Regions from separate parts of the Homo sapiens genome. Here regions 2, 3, 4, 5, 6 and 7 are each linked to region 1. Evidence: promoter capture Hi-C in 16 types of primary human blood cells and fetal thymus (Javierre and others, 2016). All regions are on one chromosome and are shown on one strand. Each heading gives the region's core, a stretch centred on a gene start or on the middle of the fragment in contact. The rest is flanking DNA. Distances are from core to core; before and after follow the strand shown.

Region 1 (3,269 bases), core at 465-2,964:
GCCCATCTGATGCTGAGGTTGACAAAGTGCCTCCAAATGTCTGGGGGCCACCCAAAGGCCTCCTCTAAAACACATCTCCCTCTCTCTGGTGAAAACCTGAGATCACCCTCTGAAGTATTTCAGGCTAGACTAGGATATGATCCAATCGGCACTGGAGAGTGATCCCTCCAGCTGGGGACAAGAGCTTAGGAGGCAGGGCAAGCCAAGGGGGACTGGAGCAGGGCAGAGGGGCATACAGTCTCCTCCAGCACTCTGGCAACACCTGCCGGGCTTGGTTCTGAGTGTCAGATCATTGGGGTCTCCAGGCAGGGGCAGGGCATTTAAGGAACTGAATGGAACTCACTCCTCTGACAGTTGGGGGGTGGAAGAGCTGGGCAAGGAGGTGTCCCGGCTGCTTCTGCTGTGGACAGCTGCATGGCCGGAGAGGAGCAGTGAGGCAGGCAAAGCCCCCCTGCAGGGGTCTCCTTGACTCAGGAACATGAGGAAGATGAGGACACTCTGATCCCTGATATTCTTGGACAATTTCCCAGGCCCTCTCACAAGCCCGCAGCTGGAGAAACAATGGTTTCTAAAAGAAACCACTGGAATGTCAGACGGGGCCCTGGGACCTTTAATGGCCAACCCCAGGCAGTTCCAAGAATTACACAACTGGGCCACTTCCAAGATGTTCTTCCTAAGAAGCATGCTGTAAGTAAATCAAAGCCCCACTCCTAGGTCTCACACGAAAGTCTCCACAGCCCCACATTCCCCAACCCCACATCCCGAGAGTCTTCTCTAGGCCTTGGGAGGTCCAGAAGTCAACACCTGCTCACTGGTGAGGTCCCAAAGTGCTTAGTAAGCAAAGTACATTTACAGGTGAATAGCAAGGGAAGGGAGGGGAGGCGAAGCAGGTTCACACACGAGCAAAAACCACTGTCTGGGCTGAAAGGAAGATCGGAGATGATCCAACCCGTTTCTAGAACTGGGGTAGAAGAAGAGGGACGTGGGAGGATATGCAGCTGGTCGAGGGCCCAGGTGAGCCACAGGACAAAGGTGGTGCATCTTATTGGTACCTCAACTTCCCTCACAAACGTTGAAAACGCTGAAAAGGGAGGGAGAGCTATGGATTATATACGGAAGCACAGGACGGAAGAATCAAGAGTGTGAACAATTAACACAGAAAAGACCGATCTTCCACCTCCAGGACCCCCAGGTAGCAGTCCCTCAGGTAGGTGGGAGGAGGACTCTGACAGGATCATTTGGGATGCACGAAGCTAGTGCAAAATGACCCCTATTACAAATGAGAAAACAGGCCCAAGGAGGGCAGGACTCTGCCCAACTGCACCGGAGTTGGCTGCAAAACATCCACTGGGCCTTGCCTATGGGCTCCTCGGACCTTTTTTCGACTCTGTTCTCTCCCTGAAATGGGTCCTCCCACTTTCCCTTTTCTACTTGCTCGCTCTTCTTTCCCCAGGAAACTTTGCAAGAAAGGCAAAAGCGAATCCCAGGAAAAAGACTGGCTCATCAATCACATGTTGACTGCGCTCGCGCGAATTGCGCATGCGCATGCTGAGCCCCACTCTCCCCAACCCCGGTCCCGCCTCTCCACCCCTCACCAACATGGCCGCCTCAGCAACAGCCCCCCTCCTGTGCGTCACGGACGCGGCGACTCCTGACGTCATAGGAAGGCGCCGGTTTCGGCGGGGGCTGCACGTGCGCAGGGGTGTGGAAACTTACCGGCTGAGCCATGGATACACCGTTAAGGCGCAGCCGACGGCTGGGAGGCCTAAGGCCCGAATCCCCCGAGAGCCTCACCTCAGTTTCGCGGACGAGACGGGCCCTTGTGGAGTTCGAGTCGAACCCAGAAGAAACGAGGGAGCCCGGGTCTCCTCCGAGTGTGCAGCGGGCTGGCCTGGGGTCCCCCGAAAGGCCGCCGAAGACAAGCCCAGGATCACCCCGTCTGCAGCAGGGTGCAGGCTTGGAGTCACCCCAAGGGCAGCCAGAGCCAGGCGCAGCGTCCCCCCAGCGTCAGCAAGACCTACACCTGGAGTCGCCTCAAAGACAGCCAGAGTACAGTCCTGAATCCCCACGATGTCAGCCGAAGCCAAGTGAGGAGGCACCAAAGTGTTCTCAGGACCAGGGAGTACTGGCCTCGGAGTTGGCCCAGAATAAGGAGGAGCTGACCCCGGGGGCCCCCCAGCATCAGCTACCGCCGGTCCCAGGATCACCAGAGCCTTACCCCGGTCAGCAAGCTCCCGGTCCGGAGCCCTCTCAGCCACTACTGGAGCTGACACCCAGGGCACCTGGCTCCCCCCGGGGTCAGCATGAGCCGAGCAAGCCACCTCCAGCTGGGGAGACGGTGACAGGCGGCTTCGGGGCAAAGAAGCGAAAAGGTTCTTCATCCCAGGCCCCAGCGTCCAAGAAGTTGAATAAAGAGGAGCTTCCTGTAATCCCGAAGGGGAAGCCCAAATCGGGGCGAGTGTGGAAGGACCGCTCCAAGAAAAGGTGAAGTGGGGGACAGCATGGACAGGGGTGGCGTTCTCTATGGTGTTGGGACCCCGCCTTTGCCCTGCTGCAGCCTGGAGAATAGCCCCAGGGTTAGAGAGAGCTCACGTTAGTGGGGATGTTAGCAAACAGGTAATTACAATCAGAATGTGGTAAAATGCCCTGGGATCCCGGAGAGGGTGGGGCCAGGCCCTCAAAGATCAATTTCTCTGATGCCTTTCCTCCTCAGGGTCCCTATGGGCCTCTCCTGTAGCACCTCAGGTCTGTATTCGTTCAACAGACATTTACCGTTGTCTGCCCTCTCTAGTGAGAGAAGCAGAAGCAAGTAAACCAGCCATTACTTGATCAAAGCAGTGAGGTCTTCATCCAATATAGTCTATTACAGTTATTTGCCTTTAAGATAAAAAGTATTACTGAGCACTGATTATATAAGGATTTACCAGTCAACAGCCTTAATAAGGATTTACCAGTCAACAGCCTTTCAAACATGGAACAGCATGTGTCATCACGCTTAATCTGCACGTCAGCCCTGTGAAGCAGGCGGTGTTATTATTCCTGTTTTTTGTGTGAGGAAACCAAGGCTAAATGAGTGGTAGGCACAGGACCTGAGCACAGATCTGATTCCGAAGCCTGTGTGCAAAAAACCCCTTTACCCAATCCCTGTAGATCCACCTTGAATTGGATTGCGACCTTCTTAAGGGGCAGGCACGAGATCTTTCTTGTCTTTCTGTGCCAAGGGCATAGTAAATGCCCAATGAATGCTTATTTAATGAAGGAACGAAGTA
Region 2 (3,269 bases), core at 283-2,782, 490 kb after region 1:
CTTCCCATACATGCCCACCTCTTTGACGGGCCGAAGCCCCTCGGCGGTGACCACATAGATCTCTAATCTCGTGTTTTTGGCAATCAACAGGTTTAAGTCTTCGGCCGAAGTAAAGTGTCCTGAAAGAACAGACCCTCTAACTTTTGAACTCAGGGGAAGGGCCTCCCATCCCTTCAAAATAATCCTATCACTTATGTCTAAATACCTCCAGAATTCTCATTTACTTCACATACTTCTCCAACTCCCTCCAGCTACTCCCCTTCTTGCCAAATCCGGCACCTCAAAGAGTCTCAGTTCATGCATTCAACAAAGCTACTTCCCTAATCAGACTAAGAAAACTGGACTGGACCTAAGAGCCGTGTGTCCTCCAAATGACAATGACTGCGTAATCCCTTCTCATGCCTCTTGCCCCTCCAATTTTACTCTATTACAGTTACAGTGGCAGGCTCTAATTGAGAATGCCGGAGAAAGTGTTCACTTCTTCCAGTCTTCATCTAAAGTCTCACAAAACTTTTATCTGACAGACCAAGTCAAATGAAGAAGTCCCAGAGCTTTATATGAAAACACTGTTTTGTCCACACCCCCTGCCCTCCTGGCAGTCTACCAATACCTCCATCCACACTCAGCTACCTCCAACTCTGAACAACAGTTTTGTTTTGGAATCATGATTAGGGTGTATATAAACATGCAAGCTTGGGGTCTGCATATTCAGCTGAGAATGTGGGTTAAGATGACTCTTCCCGGGTTCTGAACATCGGTGTCCTTAACAATCCAAGCGCATCGTCAACAAGGCAAACCCAGCACTGGGCCAGGCAAACCAAACCCTCTTCTCCAGCAGGGCCCTCATGTAAACAACAGCCCCAGGCAAAGGGGTTAGCCTGAAGAGGGCTCCTCTCCCTCTGTGGGATAATGCGGGCATTCCTCACATCCCTCCACCTCCTGGGCCCCCCAGACTTCCCCACAGGAAAATCTTGACCCCAAAGTCGTCATTACCACCTCCCCTTTTCCTGGCCACAGAAAGCCAATCTCCGGGCCCAAACGACACCGCACAACCAACTCACACTCCTCTGTCTCACTGGGCCCGCCCTGTTCTCGAGGCCGAATGACCTCCCCAGGACGAAAGGGGACCCTCGAGAGCGGCTTCCAACCCCCAAAAAGCGCGTACAGGGACGACTCTTTCGAGGTCGCGGTGCTGGGGGAGGTTCCTCGGCCGCCAGCGCCTTCCATTCGCCGGGCCCACTCCTGCCCGGCCGCCCCCGGGGCGGCGGGCCTCCCTAGGCCGCGGCTCCCCCCAACTCCCTCACTCGCCGGGGTCTCCGGCCCCGGCAGCCTCACCGGTCACGCAGCCGTTCACGGCGGTGGGCTTCTGGGCCGTTACCACGTAGTTGTACGACATGTCGAGGCTTGGAGCGGCCCGTCGGGACTCGAGCGCGACACTAGAAAGAGGGACACAAGCGAAAAGACAGGTGGCCCCCAACAGCGCGCAGCGAACTCCACTGCCGCTGCCTCCGCCCCAGAGACACGTTGCAGGCCAGAGCGGCCGGGGCGCGGGGCATCACGGGACGGCCTCACCTGGCCTCTTGGAGGACTCCCGAAGCCCGAGGCCGCCAACCGAAGGAGGCCCCGCCCCCGGAGGCACCGCCTCGCCTCTTTCCGCCAGCGCCCGCAGGACCCGGATGAGAGCGCACGCTTCGGGGTCTCCGGGAAGTCGCGGCGCCTTCGGATGTGGCGGATGCGGCCGTGAGCCGGCGGGGGAGGTGCGCCAGTGTCCTCCGAGCTCGCCCGCAGACTCCCCACCCCGTTCCGCGCCCTTTGCCCTTCCCCGCATCCAGTCCTCCTTCCGTTGCTCCAGGAGCCCTCGGGCTGTTCCTCCTTTGGGAACGGGAAGGACTGCGGAGGCATAGAGAGGGAAGGGAGACCGCGATTCGTGCATATCCCAGACTAGAACCTTGCCTGCTTTCCTTTCACTGTCTCAGTTCCTCCAGATCCAGCTGGTGCCCTCGCCTGACGTTTGAACGACCACCTGCTCACCTCCTCCCTTTTGCGCGTTGATTCTTCAGACTTCAAAGGGCCCACCGGTCTGCTTGCCCAACGTTATTAGTGCCCCTATTGCTCTACAAATTCGAACCTCAAACACAAAACCAGTATTTCTCCGTAGGGAACCTTAATGAGCCAGGAGAGCCGTCAGCCCTGCAGCCTCCAGGGTACCCCACATCAAACAGGCTCCCCGGGAACAAGAGGAATACCACGTGGCTTGGCACACTCGCAGAATGCCAGAGAGGAGCCAACCCCCATTTTACAGATGAGGAAGCTGAGGCTTAGGGAGGAATTGGTTTACCTAAGACCCTCCCCACAACCCCAAGTAGGCTGAGGCAGAGCTATGTTGATTCTTCCTATTGTGCACCCACACAGAGGCCAACACGCTGCTGAACCAGGCTGAACTGAGGAAAAGCTAGAAAGTCATCGTGGTTTACATCTTGCCTTTCCCATAGCAGAGACTCTGCCTGACTTTGGAGGCACTGAATTATCAGTAGTAAAAACACACTCTGTAGAAAAACTAGACATTGGTTTAGATTCTGGCTGTTACCTGTATTACCTTGGACAAGTCCCTAGAGCTCTCTGAGTCTGTTTCCCAGAAGTAAAATGGGTCACAAACCTGGCTAGCTCCCCCCATTCCCTTCCCTTTTGGTGCCAAGGCCAGTGAGGGCAAGCGTGTGACGAGCTTTGTTAACTTTTTCGCTGCATGTGATGCCCGTGTAAAAGATAGTTATTCTGAGGATCACTGTCCTTTAGTGATGAAGTGGGTGCTGTTCCTGGACATAAAGGCAGACCTGTGCTTGACATGGATTGATCTGTCTTCTGGCAGTGAAGTGCAGGCATGAACCTTGGTCAGCCCCACACTCTTCTCCATCCGTAGCCCATGTACTAGAGTTTGGACTTGGACCGAAGTCTGGGGCAGCTCCCTAATTACTAGGGTGCTGAAGGCGTGATTGTGCCAGTCGACTGCGAGTTCCTTCCGCAGCTTGTATCGTTACCCACTCCTGCAGGTGCTGCTGCTGCCTCCACTGTACTCAGACCCAGGTAGCACAGGATTGTCCATCCTCCAGCAGCTCAGTGCAACGGTGTGAACTCAGCCTGTTTCAGAGCCTCCACACCATGGTGAGTCATACAGGGCCGGGACGGGAATGGCAGCATGGTCTCAAAGCAGGATCCCAGCCTTGGGCAAGCTAAAGCTCCTTACACTTTGACTGAGAGATGCTATTGCCTCC
Region 3 (3,269 bases), core at 379-2,878, 470 kb after region 1:
CAACTCCACAGAGGAAGAAAAACAAGGCAGGATTACACCAGCTTTGACTCCATGCTAAACATCACCTGGAGAGACAGACAATTCTGATTCCTGGTCCCATCCACAAGATACTCTTATTTCATTGGTCTGGGTGAGCCTAGGCTGAGATTTTTAACAGCTTTCCATTTAATGATAATGTGCAACCAGTTAAAAAAATCAACGCTCCAGGAATGTGACTTTCAAACTACTGCCTGTGTCAGAGTTGGCTGGAGGGCTTGTCAAAACAGTCTGCTGGGCCCCCTCCCAGAGTTTCTGATTCTGTGAGTCAGGGTGGGGCTTGAGCATCTGCATTTCTTTCTTTTCTTTCCTCTCTCTCTCTCTCTTTTTTTTTTTTTTTTTTTTGAGACAGAGTCTCAGCTCTGTTATTCAGGCTGGAGTGCAGCGGTGAAATCTAAGCTCACTGCAACCTCCACCTCCCAGTTTCTTTTTTTTTAAGACAGTTTTTTTTCTTGTCACCAGGCTGGAGCGCAATGGTGGGATCTTGGCTCACTGAAAACTCTGCCTCCTGGGTTCAAGTGATTCTCCTGCCTCAGCCTCCTGAGTAGCTGGGATTACAGGTGCCTGCCACCACACCCGGCTAACTTTTGTATTTTTAGTAGAGATGGGGTTTCGCCATGTCGGCCAGACTGGTCTCGAGCTCCTGACCTCCGGTGATCCACCCACCTCAGCCTCCCAAAGAGCTAGGATTACAGGCATGAGCCACTGCACCCAGCAACCTTCCAATTTCAAGGGAATCTCCTGCCTCAGCCTCCCAAGTAGCTGGGATTACAGGCACACACCACCATACCTGGCTAATTTTTGTATTTTTATTAGAGACAAGGTTTCACCATGTTGGCCAGGCTGGTCTCAAACTCCTGACTTCAAATGATCCTCCTGCCTCGGCCTCCCAAAGTGCCGGGACTACAGGTGTGAGCCACCATGCCCAGCCAGAGAATCTGCATTTCTAACAAGTTCCCAAGTAATGCTGTAGCTGCTGGTTGGGGACACCCTTTGAGAATTCCTGCTCTAGAGGGACACAAAATGATCTCTAAATTAGGGATTATGAAACAGTCATCTGAATCACCTGATAAGTTTTCTGAAAATACAGATTCCAGAGCTCAACCTCAGACCCACTGAGGATTCCAAAAATCCTGTAGTTTTAAAAAACTTCCCAAGTGTTTCTATTGGGTAGCCAGTTTTGAGAACCTCTGCACTATACTTCCCATCTCAGTTATGATTTTGACACCGGAAAAAGGCTTTGAGGTAAGGGTTTGAGGAAAACATCATGACCCCCTCAATCAATAGCTCTCATTAAATAAGGAAAAAGAGACTCACCTGTCAGGATAGCCATCTGAATTGAGGGGACACATGTAGTTCACTTCCTTGAGGTTGACATTTGAGAAGACCAATTTGTGGTTGCTGCTATAGATGACAGTGGGGCGGTCAGAACAAGCAAAGACGTTGGTGGTAGAAAGAGAACGAAAAGTCCTCAATACGGTGGGCTGGGTGCCCAAAGTCACCTTCTTACGGTCGCTCAACAGACCTACAGAGAGAATGACATCAGGAGAAAGGAAGAAAGAAAACAGGACAAAAAGCTGGCCTGTGAAAGTTCAAAAGCAGAACCCTGGGACTAAGAATTCTGTGTAATTCTAATACTCTATTTTTGAAAGAGTCCCTCACTCAAAATACTACTCTCACCTGTCTCAATGTTGAGCCCAAAGTAGAAAAGCGCTCCATCTCCCAAGGCACAAAGGAGGTAATGGCTACTCTCAAAGGTGGTCATCAGGATGGAGCGAGGAATGATCTCTGTGAGAAAGGGGGACATTATGTTCTTGTTCCACATTTTGACTCTGTCCCAACCCAGGTCCCTAAATGACACATACCTCCACCCAGCATCTCCTTGTGCAGTAGTTCAAAAGAGGGCAACTTCAAGATACGAGCCGAGATGTCCGTCCAGAGGCCAATGGCACAAAGAGGGGACAGTCCATTGCTGTCTCCTAATGGGGTGATGTCCAAGCAAGCCACTTCATGTTCCATCTCTGTGTGGCTGAACAAAGAAGAATATGGCAGAGGAAGGAATCCAAGGCTCAAAGAAGTCCTAGAGAAAAGAGGAGGAAAGCGAGCAGACAGAAAAACACACACACCTGATCTGCCGGAGCTCCTGAGGATGGATCTGCAGATAGTAGAGGGCCCTGCCTACAGCCACCACCACCTGGCTGCTATTGCAGGAGGCCACACTGATGTTCTTGGCCTGAGGCTCCTTCCATTCACTGACCAGAGCTTTGGGTTCTTGAGAGACCAACCTCACCGATGCTGAAGTGATCTAGATAAACAGCAGATGAACAAATGTCTCCAAGCATCTGCCAGGGTCCACACAGGAGTGGAAAGGTGGTAAATGCAGCCCTAATAGAGCCCTACGAATAAGCTACATGAGGCTTCTATTTCTTATTCCCCAAAGTCCTGCTAATGATTACAATAGATGTCATTTTTGCATGAATGCCTGAAGGAGGCCAGCTTAAAAGTAGCTTACAGCTTACAAACCTACAGCTGGTGGGGAAAAGGCCTATTTCATTCTAATTGAGACTTACTTGGGTAATACAAACTGCATCCTGTGGGAAGATATGAATAGAGTAAGACCCTGTGACCACCAGTTTTTTGGCTTTTTTTTTTTTTTTTTTTTTTTTGGGACAGAGTCTCTCTCTGTTGCCCAGGCTGGAGTGCAGTGGTGCAATCTCAGCTCACCACAACCTACGCCTCCCAGGTTCAAGCCATTCTCCTGCCTCAGCCTCCCAAGTAGCTGCGATTACAGGCGCATGCCACCATGCCTGGTTAACTTTTGTTTTTTGAGTAGAGATGGGGTTTCACCATGTTGGCCAGGCTGATCTTGAACTCCTGACCTCATGATCCACCTGCCTTGGCCTCCCAAAGTGCTGGGATTACAGGCGTGAGCCACCATGTTGACTGTGACCACCAGTCTTAGCAGTTTTTCTCAACCCCCAAATCAGACCTCTAAAATATCTAAGTTCTTTACTGTGTATGAGCCATTTAAATTATTTAAAGTTCCTTAGTAAAGATTACAAAATTGTATAGAAATATATTGTATAAATTTATCACTGAAATAAAACAGGAAGTAGGTTGGTGACACTGTTATCTATTCATTCATCTTACCTAGCACAATTGAGTTTATATATAAGGATGAAAGCTCTTTAATAATAAATAGGTGAGCTGGTGCCAGTCTTCAGGCCAATAGT
Region 4 (3,269 bases), core at 420-2,919, 420 kb after region 1:
AGTGAGACCCTGTCTCAAAAAAAAAAAAAAATCATCAAAAGAAAGCAATTCATATTCTACTTCAATAAAAAGTTGTTTTTCCTTAAAGGGAGCTCTTGTTAATAAGAGGTAGGTGGTAAACATAGTGTGCTTCAGGAGAAGGAGCTGGGCTCTGGAGGTTACCTCTTGGTTTTTGTTTTTGTTTGAGACAGAGTCTTGCTCTGTTGCCCAGGCTGGAGGGCAGGGCGCAGTCTCAGCTCACTGCAACCTCCATCTCCCAGGTTCAAGCAATTCTCCTGCCTCAGCCTCCCAAATAGCTGAGATTACAGGTGTGCACCAACATGCCCGGCTAATTTTTCTATTTTTAGTAGAGACAGGGTTTCACCATGTTGGACAGGCTGGTCTCAAACTCCTGGCCTCAGGCGATCCACCCACATCAGCCTCCCAAAGTGCTGGGATTACAGGCGTGAGCCACCACGCCAGACCTGGAGGTCACCTCTTTGGGTCTCAGTTTCCCCAGGTGGAGGTAGGAGGGCACGGTGGGAAAGAGGACAGGATAGGAAATAAGAGAGACCTAGGCTTAAGTCTTACACACCAACTAGAAACTTAACTTCTTTGAGCCTCCATTTCCCCACCTGCAAAATGGAGATAACATAGCAGCCACGCTGGAACACTCCATGAACATTTAAATGAGGTAATACATTTAAATAAGGTATAAAATGCTCAGTATGCTGCCTGGCACATTAGCTAGCAATCAGTCTCTAGACAGTCAGGGGACTAATATCCACTAGCATGCAGAGAGGTTTGTGGTGGTTACAATGAAGTACAATCTATAATGTCCCCAACATGATGGATTTGAAGGCTCAATGGATATTCCTGGCGCCACCCGCCCTAAAAGCTCATCATCCACAGATCTGAAGAGCTGCCCCCGAAAACAGAACATACTCTTCAAAAGGTCAAAGGAGTTAAACAAATATTTTATAAAAAAGGGAATTCAGGCCACCATCAGTGAAAAAAATTCCCTGTCTTCCTAGAAGTTTAAAAAACATAAAATAGATCCAGCAATCCCACTGCTGAGTATTTATCCAAAAGATTTAAAGTCAGTTTGGGGAAGAGAGCTGCAGTCCTGTGTTCACTGTGACACTATTCACAATAGCCAAGCTATGGAACCAACCTAAGCATCCATCAATAGTACTTCATTGTGTGCATATACCACATTTCTTTATCCAGAATGGAATACTATTTAGCCTTTTAAAAGAAGGAAATTACAGGCTCACGCCTGTAATCCCAGTGCCTTGGGAGGCCGAGGTGGGTGGATCACTTGAGGTCAGAAGTTCGAGAACAGCCTGACGAACATGGCGAAACCTTGTCTCTACTAAAAATACAAAAATTAGCCGGGCATGGTGGTGTGCGCCTATAATCCCAGCTACTCAGGAGGCTGAGGCAAGAGAACCACTTGAACCTGGGAGGCAAAGGTTGCAGTGAGCTGAGATCGCGCCACTGCACTCCAGCCTGGGTGACAGAGTGAGAATCCTCAAAAAAAAAAAAAAAAGGAAATTCTGTCATTTGCAACAACATGGATGAAACTGGAGGACATTATGCTAAGCGAAATAAGCCAGACACACAAAGACAACTATTGCAAAATCTCAGTTTTATGTGGAATCTAAAAAGGTTGAAGCCAAAGAAGCAGAGAATAGAATCGTGGTTACGAAGGCTGGCAGGGGCGAGGGGAATGGGGAGATGATTGTCAAAGGGTACACAATCTCAGCTAGACAGGAGAAATATGTGTTGTGTTGTGTTTTGTGTTGTTTAGAGACAGTGTCTCTCTGTGGCCCAGGCTGGAGTTCAGTGGCGTCAGTTCTTGGGAATCAATCCACTGTCCTATCTAAAAGCATCGACTCCAGTCTGAAACCCTGGCTCTACTACCAATCAGCTATGTGATCTTGAGCACAGCACTTCACCTGCCTGGGCCTGTTTTCTCACCTGGCACAGGAGGATGACAAGAGTATTGCAGGGGTGTAGACACATGAGGTGTCCCGGCACACCGTGGGTGCTCAACACATATTAGAGATTACTCTTCTGCAAAACGGACTCAGTTCCCATGTTGTAATTTAAAATAAAGAAGAAAGCATAGGAAGAGGTTAAGAAAGGGGATAAAGAAGAAAAAGGGAGTGCAGGCCGGGCGCAGTGGCTCACGCCTGTAATCCCAGCACTTTGGGAGGCTGAGGCGGGCGGATCACGAGGTGAGGAGATCGAGACCATCCTGGCTAACACGGTGAAACCCCATCTCTACTAAAAATACAAAAAAATTAGCCAGGCGTAGTGGCAGGCACCTGTAGTCCCAGCTACTCCGGAGGCTGAGGCAGGAGAATGGCGTGAACCCGGGAGGCGGAGCTTGCAGTGAGGTGAGATAGCGCCATTGCACTCCAGCCTGGGTGACAGAGGGAGACTCAGTCTCAAAAAAAAAAAAAAAAAAAAAAAAAAGCAGAAGAAGAAGAAAAAGGGAGTGCAAATAAACAGACATCATGGTGTGTGGCATCATGAGCACGGGATGAGGGTCAGCAGGCCACAGCACAGCTGTACAACCTTGCGCGAGCCGTGTTCCCTCTCTGAACATGGCTTTCTCTTATCCAGCCCTTTACAAGTTCTATGTACCGGGGAAGAAAAGTAAAATGGAAGAAGATGGCGGAGAAACTCCAGGACCCAGAGACCCACTTACCTGGACAGGAAGAGCAGCAGTCCCCAGGAAGCAGGGCAGGGTCGGCACAGGCCCGCTGGCAGGGAACCTTCTCACAGCTCACCTCTCCCAGCTGGGGAAGCAGAAGGAACCCCATGAGGAAGCCCAGAGCATCTTGCCTGCCCTGGGCAGTGCCCTCAAGGGCCTCTTGCACCAGCAGCAGGACCCACGGAAAGATCCCAGGACAGAGGCTGCAGTGCCTGAGCCCTCGCCTGGAGAACAGGTAAAGCCAGCTATGGCAGGACCCCCTTTGGGAAACCACTTCTCCCTCTGGACTTCCACAGAGGGAGGAGATGGTCAAAACCAAAGATATTCTGGCAGTTAATTAAAGGCGGAGGATGGCAGGAGGATGGATTTATGCTGGCTAAAGGGCTCCATGTTTTGCAAAGGGACAAAAGGCAAGAAGCTGCCCTCTGGCGGGGCCGCTCCTGGGTTCCCAGGCCCAGCTCACCTGGCACGTGCACCGGGTGCAGGGTTCATCATCCAAGGTGAACACCTGGCCATTCGCCACCTTCCTTCCCTCGTAGTTGCAGTCTGTGGAGGAAGGGGAGAC
Region 5 (3,269 bases), core at 542-3,041, 360 kb after region 1:
TTGGTTTGTGAAAATTCATCAAGCTGTTTCTTACGATATGCACCTTTCTGTGTGCATATCATATCTTGAGAAAAGTTTTAAAATGATAATGTAGATTTATAAAAATCACTTGTAAAATACAAGACCATGATTTTTCTTTTAAAAGCGGGTTTGGGTTGCAAATAAAGTAGCGCAGCAGAAGCAAGCTGGGCCTATCAAAACAGGTTGGTTGCAAAACATGTGCCATATCTTGTGGTCCTATATTTGTAAGTAAATCAATATATTCATTTACTACGCCAGTGGTGGTTAGTTCTGGGTAGTGGGGTTAAAAGTCATTTAAAAAATTTTATTTACCTATAAATAATCTACAATGATAATGTATTACTTCTATACTTGAGCCAAAAAAGTTATCATCAATTTAACTTTTAAAACCTGCGGGCATCTCTGGAGAAGCAGCCCAGGTCTGGGACTGGGGAGTGGAAAACACAATGTTCTCTTTGGTGTTGGAAGATCCTGTCCCTGGGGTGAGACCTTGATTGAAAACTGCGAGGGGACCAGCTGCCCCAATGCCTATCAGACCAGCTCGATAACATTTATCATGCTTAAGTGCTCTGTCTCAGGCTTGCCGTGACTAGGTTCCTTAGATCTCATTCCATTGCTTGATTTGATTGGTTCATGGAATATTTATGAACACCTGTGCCCTTGGCAGGGGCTGCCCTGCATCGGAGACACTGCTACCAGTGCCCCTGAAAGCCAGGCAATACCATACTGAGTGCCAGGCAGGGCTAATGGCAAAGTAAACGTTGTTGTCTAATCTTTCAGCCGGGCCAGTCTAGTACAATGAGATGATGTGGCTTCCTTGCTGGCAGCCACGGATCAGCCCTGGCTGAAAATCAGATCTCATGGGAGCACGTAGTTGCAGAATCAGGATTCCCTTTTCCATCCCAAGGGTTCTTCTGGTCAAGGGGGCTGAGTGGAATGGCTTCTCCAAGTGCCCCTGGGATGGAGGCTGCAGCCATCATGGAATGTTCCTGTCACACACTAACCCATGAGCAGAAACCAGGTGGATGTACATAGTCACATAGTCTGGCCAGGGACCAGAGCCTCCTGAGACCCAGGTTCAGGTCCCATCTGTGTCATTACTTAGTTATGTGAACCTGCACTGATCACTTAACCCCTCTGAGCTATGTCCGTTGGGAAAAAGTGGGAGTAATAGTTTAATAATTCTTTTTAAAATAATTCAAAGCATTCAGAAAAGCACAAATAGGCACACAAATGTAAGCACTACTATGTTGAGGGAGGTTTGCAGATGACCTGACCAACAACGTCACCTTCTCCCTTTTCAGATCACTCATATTGCCTGAGCAGAAAACCACCTAGCAGAGCACTGAAATGGTCCCAAAAGAGGGAAGAGCAAGAGGCAACCAGGTGGATCTTTTTGGAGTTTTCAAGAGGTTTCCAGTCCTGCTTTCTATTGCTGATGACAAGTTAACACACACTGAATGACTTACAACAACTCACACTGACTCACTATCTCACTGTTTCTGTGGGTCAGGAATCCAGGCTCGGTACAGCTGAGGCCTCTGTCAGTCAGGGATGTCAGCCTGGTCTGTGGTCTCATCTGAGGCTTGACTAGAGAAGGATCTGCTTCCATGCTCACACGCTTGCTGGCAGGATTCAGTTACTTGTAGATTGTCACACTGAAGGCCTGAGTTCCTTGCTGGCTGTCAGCTGGAGGCCACCCTTGGGTCCTTCCCCTTGGGCCTCTTTATAGGGCAGCTTTCTTTATCAGAGCCAGCAAGAGGAAGAGTCTATACAGACAGTGTGCTAGCAAGACACAAGCTACAAGCCTGTATAATGTCATCGCAAAAGCAACATCCCATCTACTTTGCTGTATCCTGTTGGCTAGAAGCAAGTCCTGCCTACACAAAAGGGGAGGGGATTACGCAGGGATGTGAACACCAGCAGCATGAATAATTGGGGGCCATCCTACAGTCTCTCTGCCATACCCCTGAATTGGTGTCAGCAAGCATGCCAGCGTCCCTCAGGGTGCTAAAATCTCTAATGTGGAGAAACATTATCATCTTCACCAATCTGAGAGCTTCCCCTCAATGTGATCCAAATATCCATCCAGGTGGAAAGGAAGAGCCCCTTCCACACCAGCTTTCCCTTCAACTGACCACAAATGCGCCAAAGGCACGGCCTAGTCCTACCATGCTCAGGGATGTACCCTCTGCAGCTAGAGCATCCCTGCACGGTACACAGCAAGTGCACAATAAGGCATTTGAATGAATGTGTAAAGGGGCTTGCAGGTTTCTGCCTGGGGAATCTTCCTTCTGCTTCCCAAATATACTTCTCTGCTCAAAATTCCCATGTGGGCCCCAGACAAACTGTGCCCCCAAAATCAGTGCCCATCCTTGGGCTCCAAGCTCCCTCCCTTCCATCTGGTGGCAGCCTTGAGTGAGGGGATTCCATCTGGTGCCCCCAGAACTTAGGCAGCATCTTCAGGACCATCAGGTTCTTCACATGAGTGCTAGGATCAACCCATACTTAGGTGATGGATACTCCAAATACCCTGACTTCATCATTACTCTTTCTATGCCTGTAACAGAATATCACATGTACCCAAAAAAAATATGTAAAATATTATGTATCCATAAAGAGAGAGAGGGCCAGGTGCAGTGTGGTTCACTGTAATCCCAGCACTTTGAGAAGCTGAGGCAGGAAGATCGCTTGAGCCCAGGAGTTCGAAACCAGCCTGGGCCACATAGTGAAGCCCTGTCTCTACAGAAAATACAAAAGTTAGCTCGGTGTAGTGGCTCATGCCTTTCATCCCAGCTACTCAGAGCCTGAGGCCAGAGGACTAATTGAGCGTGGGAGGCTGAGGCTGCAGTAAGCCATGATCACCCCACTACGCTCTACCCTGAGTGACAGAATAAGACCCTGTCTCATAAAACAGAGAGAGAGGCTTGAGAGGGAGGAAAGAAAGAGGAAGAGAAGGAGGCACCAGAAGACATGAACGTGGAAAATACAAGGGCTAGTCATACTGGAGTGAGATTCACAGTTAAAAAAAAAGAAAAGAAAACAAAAGAAAATGGGCCCAGGATTCACATTTGGGGCACAAAGATGTCAACTAACAGGGGAGTCTGTAATGTCAATGTGTTTTCTACCAACCACCACTGTCCCTGAACTAATCCACACTGCCCACTCCTCAATACTCACCTGGAGGCACTGGGGGCAACTTGGAGCTTTTATAGAACCTGTGGCTCTCATGGCTGGACAGTCTGAGG
Region 6 (3,269 bases), core at 566-3,065, 310 kb after region 1:
AGACCCCTGACAGTGGGAAACAACCAAGGTGAGTGCTATAGCTGCTCCAAGTTACTCCTAGAGGGACTCCGGGCCCAAGACACAGGCAGTGGAGGAGAGGAATTCACACTCCAGGGAGGCCAGGGTAGCCAGAGTTCACAGGGCAGAGTACCAGAGAGGAAAGGGCCACACAGAGAACCCAGAAACCTACAGAGGGTCCCCCTCCAGTTCTCAGCTGGTACTGATCTATACCAGTCCAAGGCAACAATCCTTGGAGCTCAAACTGAAACAGAAATAGTCTTGCGTGCCCACCAGCCACAGTGGAAAAACCTCATCATTCACAGGACATTGGTAAAGCACTAAGGACAGAATTGCCTTGGTAGTGAGGAAAAATCAGGCCTGGGCCTAAGGCTGTTCTGATTCCAACTAACAAACCTTGAGAGCAGCTTTAAAGAATCAAACTGTTCCCAAGTAACTTAACAGTGTCCTAAAACAATGCCAGGAACATTTCTAGAAATACAAAAATATCCAGCACCCCACAAGGTAAAATTCACAACATCTGATATACAATAAAAATTACCAGACATACAAAGAATCAAGAAAATAAGACTCATAATGAGGGAAGCAATAGAAACAGACCCAAAAAATACACAGATAATGGAATTAGTAGGCAAGGACATTAAAACAGTTCCTAAAACTATATTCCATATGTTCAAGAAGCTAAAAGAAAGATTAAGCATGTTAGAGACAGGGAAGATATTTAAAAGACCCAAATCAAACTTCTAGAGATGAAAACTACAATGTCTGTGATAAAAAGTATACTGAAAGGTAATATCAGCAGATTAGACAATGCAGAAGAGACCAGTGAATTTGAAGAAAGAGCAATAGAAACTAACCAGAACAAACCACAGAGAGAAAAGAAAAAGGGACTACTGGGAAAAATGAATGATCAGAGAGCTATGGAGCAACCTCTAGCACCCTTACATACATGTAACTGGAGTCCCCGAAAGAGAGGAAAGAGAAAAGGGAATAAAAAAAATATTTGCAGAGTTACTGACTGAAAAATTTCCAAATCTGATGAAAGCTATAAACCCACAAATCCAAAAAACTCAATGAACCCAAGCACAAAACACACAAAGAAAATTACACTACACAAAAGCACATCATCATTACATTGTTTAAACTCAGTTAGAAAAGCAGTTAGGGCCAGGCACAGTGGCTCACACCTGCAATCTCAGCACTTTGGAAGGCCGAGGTGGGAGGATCGCTTGAGCCCAGGAGTTTTCGACCACCCTGGGCAACATAGTGAGACCCTGTCTCTACAAAAAATAAAAAATTTGCCTGGCATGGTGGCACACACCTGTGGTCCCAACTACTTGGGAGGCTGAAGTGGGAGGATCCCTCGAGCCCAGAAGTTTGAAGCTGCAGTGAGCTATGATCACGCCACTGCACTCTGGCCTGGATGACAGAGTGAGACTCTGTCTCCAAAAAAAAAAAAAAGGCGGGGGGACAGGGAGAAAGAAAAGCAGTTATAAGGAGAAAAGATACATTACAAACAGAAGAGCAAAAAATAAAAATAAACAGACCAGGTGTGGTGGCTCATGCTTGTAATCTCATCACTTTGGGAAGCTGATGCCGTAGGATCACTTGAGGCCAGGAAGTCAAGACCAGCCTGAGCAACATAGCAAGACCCTATCTCTACAAAAATAAAGAATAATCATTAAAAAACAACTACCCAGGCATGGTGATACACACCTGTAGTCTTAGCTACTAGGGACCCTGAGGTGGGAGGATCACTTGAGCCCAGAAGTTTGAGGCCACAGTGAGCTATGATCACGCCACTGCACTCTGGCCTGGATGACAGAGTGAGATTCTGCCTCTTAAAAAGCAAGAAGAAAAAAGGAAAGAAAAATAGCAGACTACTGATATGAAACAATGCAAGCAAAAGACACTGGAACATCTTTAAAGCACTGAAAAAAAAAATAGTTAATCCAGAATTCTATACAGGGAAAATGCCTTCCAAAAACAAAGCCAAAATAAAGACTTCTCTAGACACCCAAAAGCTGAAAGAATCCATCACTAACAGACCAGCACCACAAGAAATGTTAAAAGGATGTCCTCAAGTCAGAAGGAACATGAAACAAGATAGAAATGTGGATCTACATGAAGGAATAAAGAGCACCAAAAATGTTAAACGAACAAGTAAATATAAAAGAACTTTACATTTTCATCTCCTTAAAAAATAATTGACTATTTAAAGCAAAAATAACAATGTGTTGTGGGATTTATGGCACGTGTAGAAGTAAAACAGGTGACAACAATACAAAGTCCAGGAGGAAGGAAATGAAAGTAAACTATTGCAAGATTCTTACACTAAAGTGGTATAATATCGCTTGAAGATAGGCTGTAGCAAATTAAAGATGCATACTATATACCTTAAAGCAACCACTAAAAAGTGTTCGAATTAATGAACCAACAAAGGAAACAAAGTGGAATCATAAAAATTATTCGATCCCAAAGAAGTCATAAAAAAGGAAAAAGGGAACAAAGCACATGGGACAAATTGAAAACAAATAGCAAGAAGGTAGATTTAAACTCAACCATATCAATAACCACATTAAATCTAAATAGTCTTAACACCCCAATTAAAATGCAGCTTGTGAGATTGGATTAAAAAGCAACCCCCGGCCAGGTGCAGTTGTTCACGCCTGTAAACCCAGCACTTTGGGAGGGGTGGGTAGATAACTTAAGGTCAGGAGTTCAAGACCAGCCTAGCCAACATGGTGAAATCCCGTCTCTACTAAAAATACCAAAAAATTAGCTGGGCATGGTAGGCACACGCCTGTAATCCCAGCTCTCAGGAAGCTGAGGCATGAGAATCATTTGAACCCAGGAGGAGGCAGTTGCAGTGAGTCAAGATCACACCACTGTACTCCAGCCTGGGCAACAGAAGGAGACTCTGTCTCAAAAAAAAACAAAAACAAAAACACCACCCATCTATATGCTGCCTACAAGAAGCCCACTTTCAATATAAAGACACAAATTGTTTAGAAGTAAAAAACTTTTTAAGAGATATACCGTAATTTTTAAATCCTCTATTTTTAAAAACTGTTTTATACGTAACAAAATTTACCATTTTAATCATTTTTAAGTATACAGTTCTTTCACATTAAGTACATTTACTTTGTCATACAACCATCACCACCATTCCTCTCCAGAAGATTTTCATCACCCTAAACTGAAATTCTGCACCCATTAAGCACTAACTTCCCATTCTCCTTTTCTCCCGT
Region 7 (3,269 bases), core at 368-2,867, 280 kb after region 1:
ACACCACGCACCACCACACACACACACCACCTGCACACTACACACACCACACACACATACAACACACACAACACACACACCACCACACACACATCACACACACCACACACACTACACCACACAGACACACACACCACACACACACATATATTTTTCCCCTCATGGAGTTTGATAAAATCACACAAGACACATGTCTACCCATGACCCAGCAATTCCATTCCTAGGTATTTACCCAAGAGAAATGGAAACGCCCACACAAAGACCTGTATGTGAATGTTCACAGCAGCCTTATTCATAGTAGGCAAAACCCGGAAACAAATCAAATGGTGAATGGAAAACAAATTGGCATGTCCGTGTAGTGAACTATCATTCGGCAATAAAAAGGAATGAACTACTTATGCGTCCAGTGACATAGCTAAATCTCAAATACATGCTAAGCGAAAAAAGCCAAATCAAACAAAATAAAATCCATGCTGTATGAGTCCATGTCTATGACATTGTAGCACAGGCAAAACTCATCTTTTGTGACAAAAAGCAGATCAGTGTTTGCCTGAGGCTAGATTCAGGGAAATTAACTATAAAGGGGCCTTAGGGAACTTTCTAGATGATGGAAATGTTCCATATCTAGATTATGGTGGTGGTTACATGCATGTATACATTTGTCAAATTCCATCGAACAGTATCCTTAAAATGAGTGCATTTCACTGTATGTAAAATTACCTCAATAAAATTTTTTTTTTTTGAGATGGAATCTTGATCTGTTACCCAGGCTGGAGTGCAGTGGCGCGATCTTGGCTCACTGCAACCTCTGCCTCCCGGGTTCAAGCAATTCTCCTGCCTCAGCCTCCCGAGTAGCTAGGATTACAGGCGCCTGCCACCACACCCAGCTAATTTTTGGTATTTTTTCTTTTTTTAGTAGAGATGGGGTTTCACCATGTTGGCCAGGCTGGTCTCAAACTCCTGACCTCAGGTGATCTGCCCGCCTCAGCTTCCCAAAGTGCTGGGATTACAGGCATGAGCCACCACACCTGGCCTAAAATTAATTTTTAAAGATCTCTTAAAAAGCAGACACCAGCCCCAATCTCAGACCCCTTGAGACAGAATTTCCAGGACAGGGGCCATCCTGCTGGACAGTGGGTGCCGAGAACACCTTGCCCATTTATCTGAGCTCCCTTCTGACTCTGAAATCTGGAGCCCCACCCTCCTGGGTCTAGCTTCGGGGCTGCCTGGGTCAGGGTCCTCTGGGAAGCCCCTGCAGTGCCCCAGAAGGGACGAAGCTCACAAGGGGCAAGGCAGGCAGCCCACGGGGCAGGAGGGAGCTCAACTGGGCGTCCTAGGGAGAGGGCAGTGAGGGGTGCCAGTGGGGAACCCCTCCCAGCCTGACCCCCACCACACCTTTCTGACCCCCAGATTTCCAGGCAAGGCTCACCCGTTCCAACTCGAAGTGCCAGGGCCAGCTGGAGGTCTACCTCAAGGACGGATGGCACATGGTTTGCAGCCAGAGCTGGGGCCGGAGCTCCAAGCAGTGGGAGGACCCCAGTCAAGCGTCAAAAGTCTGCCAGCGGCTGAACTGTGGGGTGCCCTTAAGCCTTGGCCCCTTCCTTGTCACCTACACACCTCAGAGCTCAATCATCTGCTACGGACAACTGGGCTCCTTCTCCAACTGCAGCCACAGCAGAAATGACATGTGTCACTCTCTGGGCCTGACCTGCTTAGGTGGGTAACTAGCCAGCCACACGGGCACCCTGGGCCTGGGCGCCAGCCCCGAGGAGACTGCCCGAGGCCTGTGATCTAGGGTCTGAGCAGGCTGGTGGAAGGGGTGGGGGGACCCCAGTTTATAACCACTCCCCAAGACACATACCCAGGAGGGGGACTGGAAGGGGCCAGCACCCATCTGTAGGATGGCAATGGAGGACCTAGTTCTGCCAATCACTGACTTCATCGTCGCCTCTGAACCTCCATTCTCCCATCTGTGAAGTGGGGTGGTACTTCCCGCCTCGCAGGAGGCTTAGAGACAACGTGTGGGTCAAGTGGACCTGGTGTGCCAAGCGGCACTCATGCCAGGAGCTCCTGGTCCTCTCAAGGCTGCTGGCTGCCCCCGGCCCTCCCCACACCACCCATTCCTCCCTCACCAGAGTGTCTCATTGCAGAACCCCAGAAGACAACACCTCCAACGACAAGGCCCCCGCCCACCACAACTCCAGAGCCCACAGGTAAGAGGATTCTGAACCCCCCACAGGGAGTCAGAGCTAGCAAATAAAAACCCAGGATGCCCAGTTACATTGGAATTTCTGACAAAGGTGGAAATGTTTAGTATTGGTGTGTTCTACGCAATATTTGGGACCCCATCACCTCCCAAGGCTAAGCGTTAGTCAGTAGTTGTCCACAAGTTGGGGCCAAACAGCAAGGAGTGCCCAGGAAGCCCTCGGCGCTCAGGGTGGCTCCCCCTCCTGCTCTCTCCTCTCCTAGCTCCTCCCAGGCTGCAGCTGGTGGCACAGTCTGGCGGCCAGCACTGTGCCGGCGTGGTGGAGTTCTACAGCGGCAGCCTGGGGGGTACCATCAGCTATGAGGCCCAGGACAAGACCCAGGACCTGGAGAACTTCCTCTGCAACAACCTCCAGTGTGGCTCCTTCTTGAAGCATCTGCCAGAGACTGAGGCAGGCAGAGCCCAAGACCCAGGGGAGCCACGGGAACACCAGCCCTTGCCAATCCAATGGAAGATCCAGAACTCAAGCTGTACCTCCCTGGAGCATTGCTTCAGGAAAATCAAGCCCCAGAAAAGTGGCCGAGTTCTTGCCCTCCTTTGCTCAGGTAAGTGAGACCTGGCCAAGCCCCATGACACCTTCTGCTGCCCTAGGTGGGGTCACAGAGCATCCCAGAAGGTCAGGGAACATGTGTGCAGCACAGGGCACTATGGAGAATACAAGGGAAGTGGAGGCCTGGTCTTGGCCTCTAAGAGGTAACAAGGGTTGGGGTGGGGAGGATGCATCCACACTCAATGCCTTGGTAATCTCTGCAAAGCTACACACCCCAAGCCCAAAGGAACCGCTGGCTCAGCTGCCACATGGGGAAGGGGAGTCGGCAGGACTTCCAGGAGGAGGCAAGGTCTCTTCGTGGGTCTGGGGGAGAAAAAAAAATGTCTAGGTAGGAATTATGGCTTGTGCCAAAGATGGGGCACTTGGAGGGGTGGGCCTTGCAGGAAGGGCATTTGTAAATCCCAAGAGTTGGCATTGCAGCAATGGTGAGAGGTGGGAGGTCCCTGAGGCCCG

Evidence for each region. Contacts are between HindIII fragments. The CHiCAGO score rates a contact against its expected background, and 5 or more counts as called.
Region 2: a contact is called between the fragment with the promoter of DDB1 here and the fragment with the promoter of CCDC86 in region 1, in 6 of 17 cell types (naive CD4 T cells, non-activated CD4 T cells, total CD4 T cells and 3 more). The highest score is 13.5, in naive CD4 T cells.
Region 3: a fragment that was not itself captured here is called in contact with the fragment with the promoter of CCDC86 in region 1 in 2 of 17 cell types (naive CD4 T cells and total CD4 T cells); the score reaches 6.2 in naive CD4 T cells.
Region 4: a fragment that was not itself captured here is called in contact with the fragment with the promoter of CCDC86 in region 1 in 1 of 17 cell types (naive CD8 T cells); the score reaches 5.4 in naive CD8 T cells.
Region 5: a fragment that was not itself captured here is called in contact with the fragment with the promoter of CCDC86 in region 1 in 6 of 17 cell types (total CD4 T cells, naive CD4 T cells, activated CD4 T cells and 3 more); the score reaches 10.0 in total CD4 T cells.
Region 6: a contact is called between a fragment that was not itself captured here and the fragment with the promoter of CCDC86 in region 1, in 12 of 17 cell types (naive CD4 T cells, naive CD8 T cells, total CD4 T cells and 9 more). The highest score is 15.5, in naive CD4 T cells.
Region 7: a fragment that was not itself captured here is called in contact with the fragment with the promoter of CCDC86 in region 1 in 9 of 17 cell types (naive CD4 T cells, total CD8 T cells, fetal thymus and 6 more); the score reaches 10.3 in naive CD4 T cells.

Annotation. Positions count from the first base shown.
Region 1 is chr11:60,840,399-60,843,667 of GRCh38, forward strand. It overlaps CCDC86 (coiled-coil domain containing 86), which reads left to right and starts at 1,715. Exons shown (of 4, transcript NM_024098.4): 1 at 1,715-2,484. The coding sequence starts at 1,727. CCDC86-AS1 (CCDC86 antisense RNA 1) reads right to left here. Exons shown (of 2, transcript NR_182293.1): 2 at 1,408-1,582. RefSeq lists enhancers at 805-2,004, 1,911-2,140. The HindIII fragment of the contact is 9,112 bases long and covers 1-3,269 here.
Region 2 is chr11:61,331,573-61,334,841 of GRCh38, forward strand. DDB1 (damage specific DNA binding protein 1) reads right to left here and starts at 1,533. Exons shown (of 27, transcript NM_001923.5): 1 at 1,336-1,533; 2 at 1-119. The coding sequence starts at 1,396. It overlaps TKFC (triokinase and FMN cyclase), which reads left to right and starts at 1,656. Exons shown (of 18, transcript NM_015533.4): 1 at 1,656-1,757; 2 at 3,048-3,159. The coding sequence starts at 3,157. RefSeq lists enhancers at 1,095-1,617, 1,618-2,140 and a silencer at 1,536-1,795. The HindIII fragment of the contact is 9,653 bases long and covers 691-3,269 here.
Region 3 is chr11:61,312,146-61,315,414 of GRCh38, forward strand. It overlaps DDB1 (damage specific DNA binding protein 1), which reads right to left. Exons shown (of 27, transcript NM_001923.5): 13 at 2,163-2,341; 14 at 1,902-2,065; 15 at 1,717-1,824; 16 at 1,354-1,561. Among named protein-coding and RNA genes, the nearest start is that of VWCE, 18 kb to the left of the region's middle. The HindIII fragment of the contact is 4,082 bases long and covers 1-3,269 here.
Region 4 is chr11:61,261,789-61,265,057 of GRCh38, forward strand. VWCE (von Willebrand factor C and EGF domains) reads right to left here. Exons shown (of 20, transcript NM_152718.2): 18 at 3,168-3,250; 19 at 2,699-2,789. Among named protein-coding and RNA genes, the nearest start is that of PGA5, 22 kb to the left of the region's middle. The HindIII fragment of the contact is 9,219 bases long and covers 1-3,269 here.
Region 5 is chr11:61,197,797-61,201,065 of GRCh38, forward strand. LOC124902678 (a long non-coding RNA gene) reads left to right here. Exons shown (of 4, transcript XR_007062691.1): 4 at 1,326-3,074. Among named protein-coding and RNA genes, the nearest start is that of PGA3, 4.1 kb to the right of the region's middle. The HindIII fragment of the contact is 4,291 bases long and covers 1-3,269 here.
Region 6 is chr11:61,153,640-61,156,908 of GRCh38, forward strand. All of the region lies in intron 1 of VPS37C (VPS37C subunit of ESCRT-I), which reads right to left. Among named protein-coding and RNA genes, the nearest start is that of VPS37C, 6.2 kb to the right of the region's middle. The HindIII fragment of the contact is 5,088 bases long and covers 1-3,269 here.
Region 7 is chr11:61,116,765-61,120,033 of GRCh38, forward strand. It overlaps CD5 (CD5 molecule), which reads left to right. Exons shown (of 11, transcript NM_014207.4): 3 at 1,411-1,716; 4 at 2,151-2,213; 5 at 2,470-2,811. Among named protein-coding and RNA genes, the nearest start is that of CD5, 16 kb to the left of the region's middle. The HindIII fragment of the contact is 5,023 bases long and covers 1-3,269 here.